Regions from separate parts of the Homo sapiens genome. Here region 2 is linked to region 1. Evidence: promoter capture Hi-C in 16 types of primary human blood cells and fetal thymus (Javierre and others, 2016). All regions are on one chromosome and are shown on one strand. Each heading gives the region's core, a stretch centred on a gene start or on the middle of the fragment in contact. The rest is flanking DNA. Distances are from core to core; before and after follow the strand shown. Region 1 has its middle 93 kb from the start of MPHOSPH6. Region 2 holds the start of SDR42E1 (short chain dehydrogenase/reductase family 42E, member 1).

Region 1 (4,090 bases), core at 1,490-3,989:
TTATCAGCAGCATGAAAATGGACTAATACAACCATGTTTCCCAGGCTGGTCTTGAACTCCTGGGCTCAAGTGATCCACCCACCTCGGCCTCCCAAAGTGGGTGGATTATAGGTATGATCTATCACACCAGGCCCTACAGGCCCTTTTTATTTTCACATTAACAGGTTCTGGGGTTTAGGATGTAGACGTATCTTTTTAGAGACCACCATTTAACCCCATTACATTAGGGAAGTCTCCTTGGATGCAATAAACAGTTTGTCTAAATCCTGAAGCAATTAGCTAGGTGAAAGGGTAGAGGAAATTATTCCAAAAGGAGGGAGGAGCATGTGCAAAGGTCCTGTTGAAAGAGACTCTGCAGCCATTCATGCATACCATGAGACTTCTGGAGTACAGGGGGAGTGTGTGTAGCATATCGTGGAGTGAGGAAAGGGAGATGTTTTGGGCTAGGGAGGTATGCAAGGCCCATATTCCAGACAGCCTGGGATGACATGATAAAGAGATTGGAGAAACTACTAAAGAATTTTAAACAGGGAGGCAATATGAGCCAATTGGCATTTAGAAAGATCACTTTGGACAATTTGTGGAGGATGGGGTGCAGCAAGTCCAGTGGTGGCGAAGCTAGTTAGCAAAACTTTTGCTCAGTAAATGTGCATTGGCTTGAATCCTCCCTCTCCTTATTTCACAGATTCTATTTTCTTACATTAGCGTGTGATTTTTGCTGGGCTGTTGGATGCTATTTAACATGCTAAGCCAATCTACTTACTTGTAATGCTCATCACTAATAGGAAACAAGATGCTGGCCTCACAAGGTAAACTGGCCTCACTCAGTTGACAAAGTCCCTTGCACTGATGATCAAAGATTGTAAATGGATTAAACAGGTTGACGGTGTCAGTTCCAATTTTTTGAGCTACCAAATCATCTTGTCAACAATTAGCATCTACAAAATATGAAGACGGATACATCACTGTTTCAGAAAAGACTGAGGAATTCTGGGTGTTGCTCTGGATATGACACAGATTTCTCCCTTACCACTGCTTTGTAGTGGCTGCTGAAATTAAGGCTTGAATGCTTTAAGAATACCTATTGAACCTCCTCTAGGTGTCAAGGATATCCAGGATTTAGCAGAGAACCAAACAGCCTGTGCCTTCGAAGAGCTCACAGTCTAGAAAGGGGTGGTGGTACTTCTGTGCTAGAGAAGAGAGGGGGGTTCTGTATATTTCCTAAATGCCCCACCAGAGGGGCTAAAGGGGGAAGGTTGCAGAGTCCTCTGTTTTGGCTTCATGCTGCAGTGCCTGACTCTGCCTTGAAGGTGTCTTGTTCAGTGGTGGGATCACTCTGCTTGTTGGTGACAACCTGGGTATAGAGATGCCTTCTGAGTACATTCCTTAGATGTCCTCCCTGTGCTCCCACTCCCCTGTCCACTCTTTGGGGGTTAGCATCATCACTGTCCATGCCCTCCAATGGGATTAGCTCCCTTCCTGACCCCAGGGATCTCTTACAGCATGGAAGTGCATTTCTCCAGGTCCATTTATTCATCTGTTCATCCTGCAAACATGTACTGGCCGCTGACTGCTTATAATGTCCGGTGCCAGCGCTTGGGATTAATATAGACACAAATTAGACATGAGTCTTGCCTTTAAGATGCTTAACATTCATGTCACCCACTTAAAGCAAGGGTGGACTGTGGGAGGGCTAGTGATAAGCAGGGTGAGATTTCACTGGCAAGAGGCACTGATGCCATTGGAAGGGGCTGGGTTTGTGGGTGTGAGAGTGGTGGGAAATGTAGGGCAGGAAGAGAAAATGGTGAAGCTGCCCTTTGAAGGGTTTGACTAGGTGAGGATGGGTCAGATTCACCCTGACACACCTGGCCAGGGCTGATCCTAGTCTGGAATTAGATGTCTGGGTTCAGAACCCATGCTATCTGTGAGACCATGTGCAAAGGTCCTCACCAGCTAGGCCCCATTACCTCATCTGTGAAATGAGATACACATAGTTCTTCCTTCCTGGTGATTCCCTGGAGATTTGGCCAGCTTCGTATGATGCTTTGGGCACAACCCCCAGCATGGCATCAACTCTTGATCAGTACCAGCTAGCTGCCATTGCTGTTAGCCAATCCGGGGAGAGAAGGGACTTTTCTGACACTGCGAGCTTGGAACAGGCGTCTAGTACCATATATTTAGGAGACTGGAAGGGAAAACTTGACCATTTCTTTGAGTTGTAAACTTGCCTGGTAGCAAGGAGGAGAAAAAGGTGAGCAAGTCCCATGTCTAAAACCCTATTAAAGGCTCTTTATTTTTTCCTGGCTCTAGGGCTGCGTTTTCTACCTGTTGTTATGAAAACATGGCCTAAAATATCTCTAGCCAAGCAGTCCAGAGCCCATGGGAACTGTCAAAACTGGGATTGGAGCATAAATATGAAATGACACGAAGCTTCATGTTCTGTTATTAAACTTCACAGCTAGAATTTTTGAAAGCAAATTATCTTGTAGAAATATTCTTGTTACGTTAAACTGGAAATGAAAATAACTTATTTATTTGCTTAGATCAAATTGTTGCATGCAAAGTTAGGCTGTGTTGTTTTTCCACTGCCAAATGCTTTGACGCATTCCTTTAACCAAACAGTTTAAATGTGAATATTAGTTAAGATGCATCAACCACAGTGGGTTGTCAGCCTCCTAAGGATTGTATCCTTTCAAATGGGTCAATGAATAGAGATTTAAAATAGAAGTCAGATACTTTAATGTTTTTCGCATTCAACCAAGAGAACAATTTGCTTGCAGATAGTAGGGGTATGTTATATGTGATTGATAAATGAGCTTATTTACGGCAATTTGGGCATCCCCTGTATGTGCCGTAGTTTTCAGAAGCACGAGCAGGTGTTATCAGGGCTTGGGATGCACCTTCATGGCCACCAGATGTCACTGTTGAGTCACAGAAGCACAGCCATAGGGGCTGAGAATCTTTGGTGGGGAGGACGTTTAGGAAAACTTTACCTTGCCAAACAGCTCATTCTTTATTTTAAATATCTGCCAAGCCCAGGATCCCAGGGCAAGCTTAGCTGAAGTCAGGAGAGTGCTTTAGAGTATGGAACAAAATTAGGGAAATAGGAAAAAAATGCAGTATTTGCTCTTTCTGTCTTTTGGAGATTCTCCTTGTCGCTCAATCACACTTGTACGCCTGCTCTCTCCCCATTCCCAGCCCAGAGCTAAGCAGTAAATGCACTGAATTGGTTAGACCCTTGCAAAATCGCAGAACACCAGAGCTGGCAGGGCTCACAGGCGTCAGCTAGCACAATGTCTCAACTCAAGTGCAGGGGCGCCAATAGGAGGAGGAGTTGTTCAAAGTCTCTGTTAGCTTTAGGCTGAGGATCTCTCATAAGGATATTAAATAAAGGTATAGCACAGCGGTTCTTAAAAGTGTGGTCCCTGGACCAGCAGAACTAGTATCACACGGGAACTTGTTAGAAATGCACATTCTTGGCCTGCACCCCAGATCTACTGAATCAGAAAGGCTGGGTTGGGGTTTAGCAATCTGTCCTTTAACAAGCCCTCCAGAGGATTCTGATTTGACAGAGGGAAAAGCTCTACTGATAATACGGGTAGGAGAGCTTCAGTTCCTACTTCCGGGTGCCATCAGCATCTCTCCAGGCTCTGGGCTCTGAAGATTATGGTTAATTCACAGCTTCTCATTGGAGCTTGACCTCATCTACACATTCCCTGGGAAAAGTGTCTCCCTTCTAGACATGACTATATTGGGTTGAGGTATCAAGATACTTCTCTTCTATGCTCCCCATTTTTTCCCGGCTCCACCTTCCAGCCATGGAATACAGTTGACTTAGGATGCTCCCTGGTAGCTCCCTTTTGGGCAGGAGCAGCTGGAGCCCTAGTCAACCCTTTCCCCTCCTCTGCTCCCTTATCCCCCTTATACTTCTTCCCCTGTGTCTCGCACTTTTCTATTTCAGGAGGGAGAGCTTAGTGCTATTGAGAATCTACCACGTGCCATGTGTTTCCACATGTTCTTGGAGCTCTCACAACAAACCATGGAAAAGAGAGTTTGACCGTCGCCACTTTTTTTTTTTTTTTTTTTTTTT
Region 2 (3,828 bases), core at 239-2,738, 250 kb before region 1:
TTTATAAAGGGGAGTTCCCCTACACAAGCTCTCTTGCCTGCCACCATATAAGACGTAAGATGTGACTTTGCTCCTCTTTTGCCTTCTGGCATGATTATGAGGCTTCCCCAGCCATGTGGAACTGTGAGTCCATCAAACCTCTTAACTTTATAAATTACCCAGTCTTGGGTATGTTTTTATTAGCAGCATGAGAATGGATTAATACAGGTAGTTTAAAGGTTTAGCATTTAAGCCTCAGGACAATCTTCCGAAGTTGTTACTAGTATTATCATCAGCTTTCAGAAATGAGGAAAATAGATCAGAGGTTAGGAACCTTGCCCACAAATTATGCAGGTCATAAGGGGTTGGGCAGGGTTCAGGACTTGAAGCCGGGTCTGTATGACTCTTAACCACTACATGTAATGCCGCACAATAAGGCTGGGACAATACAGATTCGCTTAGGTCATTATCTTATCACTGTGAAAGGAAAATAAATCTTGGGGTCCCAAGATCACTAAGCTAAAGGGAAAAGTCAAGCTGAGAACTGCTTAGGGCAAACCTGCCTCCCATTCTATTCATGTATCTCTGCTCACTAAAATAAAGGCATATCTGATTGCTTCCTTTGGAGAGGCTAATCAAACTCAAAATAATGCAACCATTTGTCTCTTACCTACCTATGACCTGGAAGCCCCCTCCCCGTTTCGAGTTGTCCCGCCTTTCCAGACCGAAAAACATGTTCATCTTACATCTGTTCTTGTCTCATGTCTCCCTAAAATGTAGAAAACGAAACTGGGCTCTGACCACATTAAGAATACATCGTCAGGACCGCCTGAGGCTGTGTCATGGGTACATGTCTTCAACCTTGGCAAAATAAACTTTCTAAATGAACTGAGACCCGTCTCAGATTTTCAGGGCTCACTCCACCTCCACAATTTCTGTCACATCTGATTCATCTGGTATTATGACTAGCCTATAAGGTTTTGTTTAAACCTACTTACCTTTTCCCAACAAATACATGCAGTTTAAATGGGAACCTGTCACTGCCACTTTTAAGTGGCAAACCAGAACCAAGTGATAAAGAGGAGGTAATCGTTCTCCCAAAGTGTGCAGAAAATCAAAGACAGGAATCAAGTATAGCCAGCCACCTGTGGAAAGTTCGGAGCTTGGGGCCCCGATGTCCTTAAAAACAAAAAATGCGGAGGGCCAGTGTTTGAGGCCTTGGCGACATTCTAGAAAGCCAAGCTGCGCCCGGTCCCCTGGGATCAGGAAGACATCTGAAAGGGGATACTCCTTCCCGCCACCCTGCTCAGTCATTCACCACCGTCCCCCACCCCCGGGACCGCCACCTGTCGCGTTCCAGGCCGAGGCGGTCCAGGGTCCCCGCGGAAGGGCGGCGGCCCCCCAACCCCAGCCCAGGCCCACTCACAGCTGCAGGAACAAGGGCGCGGCAGACGGCTACAGCAGGCAGAGAGGCCCAGGCCTCCTAGCTACCCATCACCACAGCTGGGGCGCCGAAGCCGTCGGACCTGCCTCCTGGAGCCACTTCCGGGCCTCTCTAGGAAGCCTGGAGGTCTCGGAGTCTCTATGACGCGCAGGTGTCTCCTTCACCTTCACCGGCGTTGAGGTAGCAGGAGGTTCGCTTCATGAATTCCCCCACGTTCTCTGGCTGTGCGTTCCGCCGTGGCGGGAACCCTTTTAGGGTCACGTCTTCCCCCACGTCCCCTGTCTGTGCGTTCCGCCGTGGTGGGAACCCTGTTAGGGCCACGTCAACTGCTCTTCCCACCTCCAGTGTCTGCTTTTAGACTTTCACCTCCATCTTTGTTTATCCCCAAGGCCAAGACCAGTGCCTGATAAATAGGCACTCAGGTCAGCATTGCTTGGGTGGATGGATGATGGAAAAGGCTCTATAGGGAGGCAGAATATTCACTCTCCATGTATCTCTTTAAGTTTCTATTATCTCTGAGTTTCCATATCTATGTGTGCCCATAGGTTTTCCTGTGTCCCTAATTTTCCTTATTTCTCTTTGTTCTGGTCGCCAAGCAGGCAGTGATGCCAAGACTAATCTTTGTTGCTGAAGGAACCAAGGAATGCAGAAAGGAAAGTTGGCATCCTCACTCAGAGGTCTCCTTTTGAGGCCCATCTTTTGTCTCCTCATCATGAGTGTGGTTCTGTGGATGGTTGCAGACTGTACACGTGTATGGACATGCATCCTGGAATGGACCCCTGGCTGGGGAGGATTTCATTTTAGTGTCTTGGAGGATGGAAGTTTTGACTTCATGTGGTGCTCTTGCCGATAGATCTGGTACCAAAGGCAGACTCAGAGAGGTTCATATCAATTGCCTGATTTACTGCTCAGTTTTCACTAAGCACACACAGTCACAAGGACAAAGCTCAAGTCCTAGGATATAAAAATTAATGAAGCCCAGGTGAAGAAATCAAGAAGTGCCAGTCCCTGGCACTGGCCTCTCTCATAGGATGCTCTGGCTTTCCTGCCTGTCTTGTCCTCACCTATTAGGCAGGCATAAGTCACAGGAGACTTCTTGTGCTAAGCAGTCTTAAAGAACAGCTTTGCAGTGGCTGCTTAGGATACATAAAAATTAGAAGAGAAGAGGAAGGGTATTCAGGGGGCTGAGAGACCAGCTATATGCTCTTGAGGCCAGCAGCTAAGGAAGAAAAGACCCACTGAGGATGCAGTAAAGAAGACAGACTTCCTTTGGGGAATTACAGGATCCTCTGAGGGATACCCAGATTTAGAGTGTGTGGATAAACATGAGAAATGGTGAATTTAAATGTTAGTATTCTTGTGCCACCGAGGACTCTTTTAAAATATAATCAGGCGTGTTTTAAAGGAAAATTACAAACTCTATAATTGCTTCCTTAGCTTCCATCATAATTTAGTGAGTTGATTTTATAAAGGTCTGACCAAGAGATCTAAGACAGAAATGACTGGAGAAAGAAATTAACTTCAATGTGAGTTTGTATATCAGTGTTTGTTTAGTATTGTCTTCCCCCAATAATATGTCCAGGCAGTGGATGCATCTCAGAAAGATCAGTTTGCTGTCACAATTACTCACAGGTGTGCAGTATTTTATTTCTCACTCCGATCACAGTCCAATTCAGTCTGCAGGGAAGGGGAAGAGTGCTGTGCTCCACATAATCACTCAGGGACCCAGGCTTCCCCCATTTGTTATGCCATCATGTTCAACTCTTGGCTGCCAAGGTCACTACAGAAGAGGAAGTAAGAGCTTGGCTTTCCCCAACACTTTCACTTAAAGTCTCCTGCATCCCCTTGAAATTCTTCAATCTCTTCACAGCACTTAGCTCATCTGAAATTATCTTGCATGTTGCTATAATGAAAGCTCCGTGAGTGCAGAGACCTGCTTGATTGATTGGTGTATCTCCACTACCTACTATAGTGTCTGGCATAGAGACAGAATTTTTTTTTTTTTTTTTTTTTTTTTTTTACTGGTGAATGAATCAGCAAATGAATATATGTCACATTTCTGGTTGTCCCTGTTCAAAATCCCAGGCTTGCAAACGACACCTTCTTTTGGCCCAGCTTGGATCAGAAATCACCTCTACCATTGTCAGCTGTGGCAAAAGGACACAAGAACTGCTATAAACTGTGGTCATTTCTAAAGAACGGAAATTATTGTGAGCTTGGTAGGCACATGAGAACTTTGCTATCCAAAAGTGTGGATCAGTAACATCAACATCACCTGAGAGCTTATTAGAAATGTTGGGTCTTGGATCCCATTCTAGGCTTAATAAATACAAATCTGTATTCAGCAAAATCCCTAGGTAATTCCTATGTATAGTAAAGGCTGATAAGCACTGCCCTAAAAGTGC

Evidence for each region. Contacts are between HindIII fragments. The CHiCAGO score rates a contact against its expected background, and 5 or more counts as called.
Region 2: a contact is called between the fragment with the promoter of SDR42E1 here and a fragment that was not itself captured in region 1, in 1 of 17 cell types (monocytes). The highest score is 6.0, in monocytes.

The regions. Positions count from the first base shown.
Region 1 is chr16:82,260,784-82,264,873 of GRCh38, forward strand. No RefSeq gene overlaps it. Among named protein-coding and RNA genes, the nearest start is that of MPHOSPH6, 93 kb to the left of the region's middle. The HindIII fragment of the contact is 623 bases long and covers 2,429-3,051 here.
Region 2 is chr16:82,009,982-82,013,809 of GRCh38, forward strand. It overlaps SDR42E1 (short chain dehydrogenase/reductase family 42E, member 1), which reads right to left and starts at 1,489. Exons shown (of 3, transcript NM_145168.3): 1 at 1,406-1,489. RefSeq lists a silencer at 1,264-1,413 and enhancers at 1,654-1,743, 1,754-1,833. The HindIII fragment of the contact is 9,437 bases long and covers 1-3,828 here.